2 separate regions of the Homo sapiens genome follow, and region 1 is linked to region 2. The links are contacts of gene promoters, found by promoter capture Hi-C in blood cells and fetal thymus (Javierre and others, 2016). All regions are on one chromosome and are shown on one strand. The core of a region is centred on a gene start or on the middle of the fragment in contact, and the rest is flanking DNA. Distances in the headings are between cores, read along the strand shown.

Region 1 (6,847 bases), core at 2,010-4,509, 570 kb before region 2:
TGATAGACTGGATTAAGAAAATGTGACACATATACACCATGGAATACTATGCAGCCATAAAAAAGATGAATTCATGTCCTTTGTAGGGACATGGATGAAACTGGAAACTATCATTCTCAGCAAACTATTGCAAGGATAAAAAACCAAACACCGCATGTTCTCACTCATAGGTGGGAATTGAACAATGAGAACACATGGACACAGAAAGGGGAACATCACACACTGGAGACTGTTGTGGTGTGGGGGGAGGGGGGAGGGATAGCATTAGGAGATAGACCTAATGCTAAATGACGAGTTAATGGGTGCAGCACACCAACATGGCACATGTATACATATGTAACAAACCTGCACGTTGTGCACATGTACCCTAAAACCTAAAGTATAATAATAATAATAACAAAACAAAAAAATAGATATACTTGAAGAAAGAAATAGTGAATGGGACGATGGATCTGAAGAAATTATATAGAATGTAACACAGGGAGACAGAGAGATAGAAAATGTGAGAGATATTGGACAAGAGGTTATGCCACCATAACTAAGGAATAAAGTAACATTCCCAGTCATGAGACATATTGACATCTGCAGCTCCTGATGGGATGCACTGAGAAGGGCACAGTATCACTTCTATGATGTTCTTGTCCCAAAAAATGTATAACCTGAATTGTCTTTAATTTTATTTTTTATTTTTATTTTTAGAGACAGGATCTTGCTTTGTTTTCCAGGCTGGAGTGCAGCAGCATGATCATGACTCACTGCAGTCTTGAACTCCTAGGCTCAAGCCTCCTGAGTAGTTAGTACTCTAGATACACACCACCGTACCTGGCTCATTTAAAAAAGTTTTTTTGAAGTGATGACATCTTATTATGTTGCTCAGGCTGGTCTCGAATTTCTGGGCTCAAGTGATGCTCCTGCCTCAGCCTCCTTAAGTGTTGGGATTGCAGATGTCAGCCAGCATGCCCAGCCTTACTCTGGAATCTTAAAAATATTGCTAACTGAGCCCTACCCAAGACCTATGAAGTCTGATAGGGTAGGTCAAAGGCATTTGTTTGTAAACCAAACATTTTTCCCAGGAGATTCTGAAGTATGTCTAGGGTTGAAAACTGTTGTGTGTAGTTTTGTATTTCTTTCTTCCTATACATTGTTTTGTATAGTTTTGTATTTCTTTCTTCCTATACATTAGCCACTATGGAAATTGTAAAAGCACTTATTCATTAGATTATAAGATAATGTACGTAAGGGAAGTTTTTATTAAAATGTCTCTAGACAGACACCTCTGTATAGATAGGTTTGTCTCATATACTTGAGGACATTTATGGACCTCTGTTTTGGACAGAGTAGGGGCCACAGCATAATCTGTGAAGGGAACTTCTTCCTGGCACATAGGATTGCAGATTATAGATTCCTTTGTTATGTTTTCCCCTTTCTATTTTAAAGGTCACTATAGTCATCCTCCTTTGCTGCAAATCATAAATGAACATACTAAGGAGGTTTTAAATATGTTTTAGTTAGGTCTTAAAAAAATTAACAAATGTTTGGAATTGACAGTGCTTTTACCCTGTTTTTGTTCTGGGTTAATGCTGCGCCCTCACTAGGTCTGGAATCTTTATAGTTTGAGACATCAGACTTGGATGAGGAAGGGTAAATCATGCTACTAGTGGGCCAGTTACTCTGTGGTTTTCTTATGAGACTGTGCTTTAAGGAAAAGGTAACCACGGAGCATATGGCATTGAGTTTGAGTCATGTGGAACTGGTTAGAAGTAAAATGTTTCTATTCCAGCATTCTCTGAGTTTGTCAGCTTTTCATTATTTTATAGGAAGAATTCTAGCTTCTTATCCTGAGATGAGCTTGTCTCCAAATCTGGTTCCAATTTTTTGTTGTTGTTGTTGAGCACATTTCGCCATATGATATCACTATTGGCTGTAGGTTAAAAGTTACCGTGTAACTTAAACGTCAGAATTCAAACCACCAAGTATACACGGTTTTGTTCAGCCAGATTTTTAAATGAAATCTAATTTGAGTTTTTGGCTAAAAGTACTTTCCACATTTATCAAAGTGACACATGAACTGAAGAAATACAATGTATCTGAGTACCAGGTGTTACTGAATCTGGAATTGCAGGAGGGTAACAGAGCCAAAGGCAGTCCTTTCCTCAAATAGTCTTAACGTATTCATGTTTGTCAAAAATGTGTCTACACAAAGTAATTGGTTCTCTTTTCTCTGTAGATTTCATCCTTTGTTGAAAAAGATGTCTTAGAACCTATCAAGTGCAGAGCTGGGTTTTGAGGGCATGGAAAATTCTGTTGATGCTTTTCTCTAGTTTTGGCTTTCATGTGAGTTGTACATAGGGAGGCTTATAAGGAGCATCCTAGTGGCTTTACCTTGTATCACTTGGCTACTTTTTCCCCACACTTCATTGTTGTAATGAAGGGAAAGGCAGCTGAAACCAGAAACCTACATCCCTTGCCAACTTAAGAGATAAAAGGAAATTTATCTCTTCTGCTTTCTACCTAGTGAGAAGGGGTCGGTGAGAAACTAGGCCAGGTGAGAAAACTACTATCAGAGTTTAAGTTGAGTACTTCGATATGTTCTTCAGACCATACATCTTAGTTAACATAAAACAAGGACTAGTGGATAGTTTGTGTGAAATAGCATTTTCAACCACCATTTTCAGTACTTAATATAGCTGGGTGGAATCATGCTGTGTAAGTGCTGCAGAACATAAATAATAAAGGAAATAAACATCTTAATTTTGTAACAAGTGAAGGTCTAGGCTAATATTAAGGGTAGTATAGGATACTTTTGAAGCTTTTGAATGTACAGAAGTACATATGTAATTATTATATATTGCTTAGACTTCTAGGCAGTTTGCCATTCATGTCTTTTTTGTCTCCAGATTGAGCTGTTTTGTCACATTAGTGAGCATTTGAAACATAATTTTAAGTGTCATTCTACAAATGGTTCTTAATTGATTTATGACTAATGTCAGTATGAACTGCAGGTGTGTGCCGTGCCTTTGGACTTTTTGGTGTCTGTGTGTTCTGAACATAAATTGGCCTTAGTATGTTATGCACACTGTCAGTTTATCACAATCCATGGCCTCTGAGGAGCCAGAAGTACGGAATGTACAGACGATCTATGTACCTTATATTATTTTCTGTCTCAGCCCTTTCCCAGAATTCCCAATAAAGCAGATTTCTCAATTACTTGCTTTTATTTTTCCTTTCTCCCATTTTTTTTTTTTTGGTAAATTAACAATGAGAGATAAATGGAAATAAGGCAGTTGGAAGAAAAGAGGATGAAAACAGGTGAAGATTCTTAGTTGTGGAATAAGCTAGGTTGGCTATGGGTTGATACCATGTGTGCTTGGGTAGTAAAGGTAGCTAGTTTTTTCTGCGTGTTGTATTAAGCCATTATTTATCAAATACTAATTACGTTTTATGCACTAAATACTAGTCCAAGTATTCTATTTGATATATGGATTAATTCATTTGTTCCTCCTAGTGCCATGAGGCAGGTATTATTATTCCTGATTTACAGATGAGGAAACCGAAGACACAGCTAATATGTGGCAGAGATCAGAATCACAATCTGCCTCTGGAGCCTTGGCTTAATCACTGACAGAGCAACAGCCACTCAGGCAGAGAAAAAGGAGTTGGCATTTACAGTTAGAGGAGTTAGGACTTTAGTAACTCTGCCCGTTTCCCTAAAGCTTAGGATTGGCTGTGATAGGGGAAAGTAGCTTATGAATTGACTGGATTGATGTAAGTATAACAGAAAAGAGAGATTGTACTCAAATTTACAGCCATGTTTTTTGACATTTAGAATAATCAGAGGATACTTTTCTGTAGTGAGAAATATACAAAGAGTTGTTCACACACACACCTTTTATATTAAACACTGACTCAGTGATGTCAGCAATCTAATTACTATAGAGTATCAGTTATCTAATACTGTGGAACAAACCACCCCAAAACCTAAACGCTTAAGACAACAGCAGTTATTATTTTGGTAAAGAAATCTGCAAATTGGGCAGAGTTCAGGACAGACAGTTCTTCTTTGCCTCCGTGGAGTGTTAGCTGGGGTGGCTTAGGTTGGAGGACCCACTTTCAGATTGGCTCATTCACATGGCCAGTAAGTTGGTGACGGCTTTCAGCTGGGACCTGAGCCTGGGATGTGGGCCAGGGTTCTTGGTTTTTCTTCATTTGGACCTCTCCACAGCTGCATGGGTTTCCTCACAGTTTAGTGTCTGGGTTCCAAGAATAAGCATCATCTATTAGAATAGTGCTTGCTTTATAATTGCTTATTGAATGAATGAAAGAATCTCAGGTTGTTTTCTTGCTCATGTTGGCCCATTTGGCAAATAGCCACTGTAAAGTGCAGGTTTCTTCCCAGAGCACGGTAATCCCTGGCTCTGAGAACTGCTATTTAGAGGGTTCTTTTATCTTGACTTGAAGGTCTATTTCTTCATTTAACCACATTTATGTTTCTAATAAATTACCCCCAGTTACTACTAGGCTGCAAAAATCATCTCTGAACCATTCAATAAACAGAGAAAAGAAAACCTTTTTAAAATTTGGAAACTACCTTGAAAACTCCCCATTTTTTCCTCCTTTTAGTCTCAGTTGCATTGAAAGTTAACATAATGTTCTGTTCCTGGATCTGGAAATGGTGTAATAGTGACTTCACCACCTGCCATTCTTGAGTTGTGGGTTAGTTTCCCTAAAATGTAGATCTTGACAAGAGGCAGATGGTGCATGAAGTTTATTTATTTGTTTATTTTTTGAAAAAGGAATACCTCTTATGAACCAGGAACTAGAACACCCCTTAGCTTACATTCTAACAAGAAGAGAGACAATAAACATAAGTAAAATGAGAAAATTATAAATTCTTTGGACAAAGGGATAAAGTATAGTAGGGTAAATGGTTTTACATGTTGAAGGGTAGTTGTTGGGACTGTAGTTTTATTTACTTATTTTTAATTTTTTTTGAGGCAAGGTCTTGCCCTGTTCCCCAGGCTGAAGTACAGCAATGCAATCACGGCTCACTCAGCCTTGACCTCCTGAGCTCAAGCGATTGTTCCACCTCAGCCTCCTGAGGAGCTGGGACCACAGGCACACTCCACCACACCCAGCTAATTATTGTATTATGATTATTATTATCGTAGAGATGAGGTTTCACTGTGTTGCCCAGGCTGGTCTCAAACTGCTGGGCTGAAGCAGTCTGCCCACCTTGGCTTCACAAAATTCCGGGATTACAGGTGTGAGCCACTGTTCCCTGCCAGGACTGTAGTTTTAAATGGTGATCACTGTAAGGCAGGTGTTTGAGCCAAGGCTTAAAGGAGAGGAGAGGGTTAGCCATATGGATATCTGAGGAAGAACAGCATTCTTGGCAGAGGAAACAGCCATTGCAGGGATCCTGGGGTGGAAATGTGTCTTGCATGTTCAAGGAAAAACAAGGTGGCTTTGCTAAAGAGAGAGTAGTAGGAGATGATGTCAGAGAGGTGAGATACAGGGAGAGGTCAATTGAGGTAAGACTTCTGTCGTTTTAAAGATTTGGGCTTTTACCATGATAGAAATGGGAAGCCATCAGAAGGTTTTGAGCAGAGGTGACATAATAATCTGACCTAGATTTTAAAAGGATCACTTTAGTTACTATGTTGCCACTAGCCTGAACCTGGTAGGCAGGAAGACAAGTGTCCTGCTCTGTGTCATCTTTGGGCTTTATAAACCATGTTCCATCTGTTGTCTCATTTGAATCTCAGGAAAACCTTGTGAAATATTTGTTATTTTTCATGTTTTACATGTGAGGAATTGGAGGCTTAGAGAAGTTGACCAAGTATCCCAGACATACTCAAGTGAGCAGTCTCAGAGTAACATCTTGAACCCAGATCTCCTGTCTCCAAATTTTGTGCTCATTCCACTATTTCACATTAAAACCTGAAGATCTCCCTGCTCTTTTCATCTTAACGTAATTTCAGCTTTTTGTGTGTGGCTCTCCAAGCCACAGAGCAGCAGCAGCTTTTGAGGATAAGAAGCAGTTTCTTTTAAGGATAAGAAGCAGTATGGTTCTTACCTGGTAAGATGGCTTGAATTCAAAATTGACCTACTTGTACCATAAGAAAGCAGGTTTGCAAGGAGTAGAATAGACTTGGAGATATGCCATTTTTTGTTCAGCTACTTGGTATGAAGACTGAGTATCTGAAACCACACTGTAAGGATTAAGTGGCTTCATAAATAATCTAAAACAGTTGTTGGCTTTTAGAATTTAATAAATGAAAAAGTAAGGTAACAATTCTTATAATACTTTTTCCAGACTTTCGGGGAAATTGAAATCATTTGTGTTTTATTAATCCATGCTTTTCAGGACCAATGGCCCATAATGTGAGCAAGGTTTATTGGTGTAATGATTATTTTGTGGCCTAAAACTACTGTGACTCTTTGGACTAGCATGTTTCTGATCATAGAGACAGCTAGAGACTTCTTCTTTTTTCTTAATATTTGTAGCTTGTTTTAAACGTACTGAGTAGAACCTGATTTAAGCAATTATACAAAGTTTGGTTAGATTGCTTTATTAATATTATGAACTAGAAACAGTCACCAAATGCGCATTCATTATACTAATCCTTACTATGATTGAGTCATTTCTTTGAGTTCTTGGAAATCTAATTTTTCTAAAATTAACAAAAGGGGACATTTGAATGATGCAAAAGCACTCATGGCAAGAATCTAAAAGTTCATATAAATAATAATTTTCTCATACTCTTTTATACATTTGACCATTACAAGATCTGTCAAATTCCTTTCAATATTTGTGATGTCACAGTCGTACTAAAACAATCTTGAA
Region 2 (6,837 bases), core at 199-2,698:
CTCTTGTTGCCCAGGCTGGAGTGCAATGGCACAATCTCAGCTCACTGCAACCTCCACCACCCGGGTTCAAGTGATTCTCCTGCCTCAGCCTCCCAAATAGCTGGGATTACAAGCATACGCCACCACACCTGGCTAATTTTGTATTTTTAGTAGAGACGGGGTTTCTTCGTGTTGGTCAGGCTGGTCTCGAACTCCCGACCTCAGGTGATTCACCTGCCTCCGCTTCCCAAAGTGCTGGGATTACAGGAGTGAGCCACTGTGCCCAGCCACTCTTTTTTCTTTTTTTTGGACAGAGTCTCACTCTATTGCCCAGGCTGGAGTGCAGTGGTGCAATCTCAGCTCACTGCAGCCTCTGCCTCCTGGGTTCAAGTGATTCTCCTGTCTCAGCCTCTCAAGTAGCCAGTATTACAGGCACACGCCACCACACCAGGTTAATTTTTGTATTTTTGGTAGAGATGGGGTTTTGCCGTGTTGGCCAGGCTGGTCTCAAACTCCTGACCTCAAGTGATTCACCTGCCTCAGCCTCCCAAAGTGTTGGGATTACAGGCATGAGCCACCATGCCCAGCCTGGAATTTCATGTTTAACTTAGACTCTGGAAATTCCAAATGAGTTTTAACACAAACAAATTATTTGAGAAATTCAGGTCTCTGTTTCTTTACCTATGAAATGGTGACTGCTTATGCTTGCCTTGATAGACTACTAGGATGAAAGGAAATGACGAATATTGAAGTCCTTCACAAATCTAACAAAATGTGAAATATGATTGTATTTATAGTTTACGTATTGCAAGCAGATGCTGCAGAATAAGTGTTTCAGATTGAAATTTCTTGAAGAACCCCTAGCCTTTTCCATACCAAATAAACAGATCTCTGGAGGACAGGACCTCTGACATTTGTACCTTCTTTCCATCCCTCTGTACCCCTGTACTTCCTGCAGCCCTTCCCTTCACCACCACCATGTCCCTCCTGCTGCTGCAGAGTCTGCTTGCAGGGCCTTTACACCAGGGAGAGCAGGCAGATGGAGGAGCATGGACAGATACATTCCTCTCCTGGCAGTGTCCATTACTTCTCATTCTACTCATTGAGACTCCAAAGTCAGAGTGAAATACTGAGGGATATGAATTCCTGTACTGTGTGGCAGCCATTGCCACATTCAACATACGATGTCAGATGTGTGCAAGATGAGGCTACTCACGAGACACAGAGGCACAGGACTCCTGGTATCGACTCGCTGTCTCTTAAAAGAAAGTTGCCATCCACCCCTTCCTTGAGCAGCAAGGTCTCACAGTCTTGCTTGGTCAGACGTCCATGGTAGTAAGGCAGATCCATGGAGAACGCTCTTGTATCCCAGGAAGCCCTGTTGGCCTGAAATTCACCCCCAAGTCAAGGGACAGCTCTGAGGAGAGATGTGTAAGCAGCTGTACCTCCTGTGGAGCTACCTCTTCCTCTAGCGGTCTGTGGGACTCAGCCAGCTTCACAAGATTCAGGAAATGAGGAGGGCGGGGTGATAAAATGACCAACACTTTTCACCCTCTAAATGGCCCACATGTGACTCACAGAAGTAGGTAAAGCACATTTAAACACACAATGGAATCAGTGATGCTCATGGCTAGGGAGGCAATGCTGAAGTCAAGCTTCCTGGAACTGTGTTGCAGCCTTGTATATTACCATGGACTATCATCAACTTCTTTGGCTACTGGTATCCTTTCCAGGAAGCACACCGCTGCTTTTGCTGTAATGGTACCCATTTTCTGCTGAAGTTGCCTAGGATTGGGCTATGCTTAGCTTAGACTGGGTGCTCAAAAACCATTTGGATGCTGAGAGAATTGATATGCTCAGATACAATGGGAAAATTGAAAGGGTGGGATTTCCGTGGATCAAATGACACTAAAAATGGAAGACATTAATGGCAATAAAAAACAGTGGGACACTGTGGATGAGGACAGCCCATTCCATGGCTAAGGCTCCCAGCCACTGGTGAAAAAAGGCCATTTGAACACCCTCAAGCATTGTTCCTTTTGGAGAAAGGGCTGGTGTAGGTGGGAGGGATATCTGGGTATACTCATATATCTACAGAAAATCACTATATATATCTCAAAAATGTTATCTATGAAAATAGAACTATGTGCTAACGATTCATCTTTACTTCTCTTAACTTCTTCTTTTTTTTGTTTTCTTCATCTCCGTAGTACCTGGAGATCTTAACTTCTTCTTAACCTAGATGTTTATTTCACCTTGCTACTTTGCTTACCAGCTGTTTACTCACAGTTGGGTGTATCTTCTATGGAACTTCCTTGTAACAGATCTTTGTTCTTCCTTGGAATTCCCACTCTGCATTTGGCATAGTGCAGTTTCACTGATCAGGGAACTCGTTATCAGACAGATATGCTCTCAAATAGCAACTTTTCTTCTGTGGTTTTGGACAATTCATTATTCAATTCTCTGGAAACTATGGCAGTTGAAGACAGAGTTGTTAATAATGAAAGAAGAAATTTGGTATTTCTTGTGAATAAATTCACAATCGTGGTGTAAAGATGCTTTTTGACATAAGAGAGGAAATAACTGAAAGCATGCTCAGGCTCTTGGTCATCACAGGGGCTTCCTTGCCCTTTTTGCTGTTTCAAAATCCAACCCTCACAATAAAAGAAATGCAAATTACCTGCATGCTGAGATAACAACTCTCACCTATCATATGGGTGAAAATCAAAAGTTTGAAAGCTTATTGGGTTGGTCATGGTGAAAGAAAATAGAATATCTTGTATATCATTAGTTGGAATAAAAAATAGTTACAACTATAGTAAAAGATGGTTTGGCAATATCTTGCAAATTTATGTATGCCTTCACCATCTGATAGAACAATCTCAGTTCTAGAAATCTGTCACAAAACTACACAGGCAGAATTAGAAAATGACTTGTGAATAAGGTAGTATTTTTTAATAGAAAAAGATTACAAACAACTCAAAGACTTGTGAATAGAGGGACAGGTGAATAAACTGTGATTCATGTATACAATGGAATATTACTATAGAATAATAAAATGGGATTGAGGAAGATCTCTATATGCTGATATGCAATAATCTTCAGGATGTATTTTTAGGTGAAAGCAGCAAGATGCACAATAGTATATAGAGTATGGGGGATATAAATAAATATATACATTTATAATATTTGCTCATATTTAAAAAACAAACGAAACACCCACTGGAAGAACAAAACTAAAACTAATTAAAACTAAAAACTTCTGCCTCTAAGAGGAGAGCGGAAACATGCATAGAGGTGAGACTTCTCTCAGTAAAACTTGCTGTAGAGTTGTTGGTTTTTTGTTTTGTTTTGTTTTGAGACAGAATCTCACTCTGTTACCCAGTCTGGAGTGCAGTGGTGTGATCTCGGCTTACTGCAACCTCTGCCTCCCTGGTTCAAGCAATTCTCCCACATCAGCCTCCCAAGTAGCTGGGACTACAGGCACGTGCCACCATGACTAGCTAATTTTTGTATTTTTAGTAGAGACAGGGTTTCACCATGTGGCCCAGGCTGGTCTCAAACTCCTCACTTCAAGTGATCTGCCTGCCTCGGCCTCCCAAAGTGCTGGGATTACAGATGTGACCCACTGCGCCCAGCCTGCTGTGGAGTTTTGAATGTAGAATCATGTAATTGTTTTTTTGTTTTGTTTTGTTTTGTTTTGAGACAGAGTCTCACTCTGTCGCTCAGGCTGGAGTGCAGTGGTGCGATCTCGGCTCACTGCAAGCTCTGCCTCCTGGGTTCATGCCATTCTCTTGCCTCAGCCTCCCGAATAGCTGGGACTACAGGCCCCTGCCACCACGCCCAGCTAATTTTTTGTATTTTTAGTAGAGACGGGGTTTCACCATGTTAGTCAGGATGGTCCCAATCTCCTGACCTCGTGATCCACCCACCTCGGCCTCCCAAAGTGCTGGGATTACAGGCGTGAGCCACAGCGCCCGGCCATAATTGTTTTACACATTGAAAATAAACAAGTAAAAGGGTATTCCTAAAAGGAGGAATAAAAACTAAAATAATGTATCTAACTGAACATTACTTTGGTAATATAATCATAAAGAAAATTATTTCAACTGACTTTAGAATGTAGAATTTGAGTGAACAGTTTTAATTAAATATCTTGTACATTAAATAAACTAGCAAATAAATTTAGTGATAATTTGGTGTAATTTAAATATATTTAACTCATATTATAAGATAAACAAAAATCATACTGATATTAACATTTTAAGAACTAAGTAAGGTAAACAACTGTACCAGTTTGCTTATGTCTGAGGGGTTTCCCAGTATCTACGACTTTCAGTGTTAAAGACAGATGAGTCCTGGGAAAATTCTAGAATCAAGATTTTTTTTCAGTATAAGAAAAGAGATACACATATAAAAGCAAAGAAGTTAAATAAAATTTTTGATGCTAAATTTGAATTGGAAATATCAGCATGGATTTACAACTTGCTTTTCAACAAAAGGCCTAAAACAGGGGCCAGCAAACTTTTTCTTAGGCATTGCAGGCAATAGTCTCTGTTGCAACCATTCATCTCTGCCATTGTAGTGTAAAAGCAGCACTATGGGCTGTAGTTTGCCAATCCCTAGCTAAAACAATGAAAACTTGGTAGCAATGAGCACACCTAGGGATAAGGCTATGGTCTCTAAATACCACTTCTCCTATAAAAGAAGCAAGAACTTTTTAGAGAAATGGCTGAATTCATGCCAGGGACATATAAGTGTGTCAGTGAAGACTGAGTCATGTCAAAGGACATAAGACCCAATATGGAAAAATTTAAGTATCAAAGGAATAATGATTGTGGTTGATCAAAATACGTTGAATTTATATTATCCAGTAAAAGATCAACCTTGCCCAAATATAGATGTAGCCCTTTGTCCTAGCTCCTTGGAGAAAAGCTTTAAGCTCTTGGAATCCAGTGTATGGGACATTCAGTAGAACAAATAATGTGGTGTCTTCATAGGTTGTAAAAACTGAGTCAGATAGTTGGGTGAGAACTGCTCTAGGTTAAAAAGATGGTTATGCAGCATGAAACCAATGCTAGATGACATCTTGTTTGGATCTTGGCTTGAAAAAACCAAATACCAAAAATTTAGTGCTGGGGGAAATTTAAGTATTGATTTGATATTAGATAGTGCGTGTAGCAATGGCATTATGCTTTTGTGAATATAACTTTTAGAGATACGTATTGAAGTGTTATGTCTGATACTGGGTGATTGTGTGTGTGGTTCATTATATTAATGTCTCTTTTTGCATGTGTTGTAAAGTTTTAATAGTAAAAATATCTTTCCATTCCCATATTATTCTGATCCCATGTCACCTTTAAGAATAGCTCCACAGTACACAGGAATATCTTCAATTTCTTGCGTGGGTCCCCTTTCTCTCATCCACAGAAACAAAAACCTAGCACTATGTTTGTAGAACATGACCCTATTCTTCTGGCCATGGGTGATTTGATCAAGGATAGGCCTCCGACCTAAGATAAGTTAATCACAAACCCTTATCCAGGAGTTTAGAGAAAATGGGGAAATGAAGGAAATGAGAGAGAAAAAGAGAGAGAGATGAAAGGAAGGAAGGAAGGAAGGAAGGAAGGAAGGAAGGAAGGAAGGAAGAAAGAGAAAGAAAGAAAGAAGAGAAAGAGAAAGAAAGAAAAAGAAAAGAAAGAGAGAAAGGGAAGGAAAGAAAGAGAGAAAGAAAGAAGAAAGAGAGAGAAAGAAAGAAAAAGAAAGAAAGAAAGAAAGAAAGAGAAAGAAAGAAAGAGGGTAGGGGGCTGGGATGGGTAGGAAATGGGAATGGAAATTAATTCTCTAGGAATGGCTGTGTAACAGGTACATTTTTACACTGTATACTGGTGGCCATATCCCAGCAAGCTGTCAGGAGAAGAGAACTGGTCTGCAAAATGAGGAATGAAGTGGACACATGAAAAAAAGCAGAGTCAAAAGATAGTCTCACTTGGATTTTCCATGGGTTTTCATTCCAGGATTCAGTGATTTCTGAGGTCTGGCTACATGCTTGCCCTTGAGTTTTTTTGTCATTTTAATAGATTTCCCTTTTGTCATAAGCTAGTTGGCATTTGTTTTTGTTATTTTCTACTAAAGATGTCAAATAAATCCAGCCTTACAGATAAAATTCTGTTCTCAAGACCAAGGAAGCATGAGGCCAAATGTGAATCACAGTGTTGTTCTGAGTGAAAAGTCACGTAGAAACTGGACAGTGTGGTGTCAACCCCAGAAAGCCCAAGATCACAAGATCATCACTGACCACAGCAGCATGGCAAATGCTTGTGTTGTGCTTGTTAAAAGATGCCTGATGGAGGGCAACAGTGTAGGACCTCCCACTTCATTCCTACTGTCTTATCGTAGGAGATAGCACTTTGTCTATCTCCTTAAAGAGCTAACTCATTGCATCACCATCATTCATTGAACATACTTTATAGTGGGACCCCAATATTCTTGGAATCTCCATGACTCTAAGGGCAGAACCGCCTATGTGAGAGGCAGTGTGGTGTGGGGGCTTCAGCAAGAGGCCTTGCCACCTGTTCATTCTTGCACTGCTACAAAGAAACACCTGAGACTGGGTAATTCATAAAGAAGTTGAATTGGCTCACAGTCCACTGGTTATGCAGGAAGCATGGAAGCATCTGCTTTTGGGGACGGCTCAGAGAGCTTTTACTCATGGTGGAAGGCAAAGAGGGAGCAGGACTGAGAAGGGGGAGGTGTCACACACTTTTATACAACCAGATCTCACAATAACTCACTCACTATCACAAGAACAGCACCGAAGGGATGGTGCTAACCCATTCATAAGAACTCTGCCCTCAT

Evidence for each region. The method cuts DNA at HindIII sites, captures the fragments that hold promoters and counts their contacts. A CHiCAGO score of 5 or more calls a contact.
Region 1: a contact is called between a fragment that was not itself captured here and the fragment with the promoter of SH2D1B in region 2, in 1 of 17 cell types (M0 macrophages). The highest score is 6.7, in M0 macrophages.

The regions. Positions count from the first base shown.
Region 1 is chr1:161,834,390-161,841,236 of GRCh38, forward strand. All of the region lies in intron 9 of ATF6 (activating transcription factor 6), which reads left to right. Among named protein-coding and RNA genes, the nearest start is that of ATF6, 71 kb to the left of the region's middle. The HindIII fragment of the contact is 904 bases long and covers 2,808-3,711 here.
Region 2 is chr1:162,410,688-162,417,524 of GRCh38, forward strand. SH2D1B (SH2 domain containing 1B) reads right to left here and starts at 1,449. Exons shown (of 4, transcript NM_053282.5): 1 at 1,196-1,449. The coding sequence starts at 1,329. The HindIII fragment of the contact is 13,514 bases long and covers 1-1,632 here.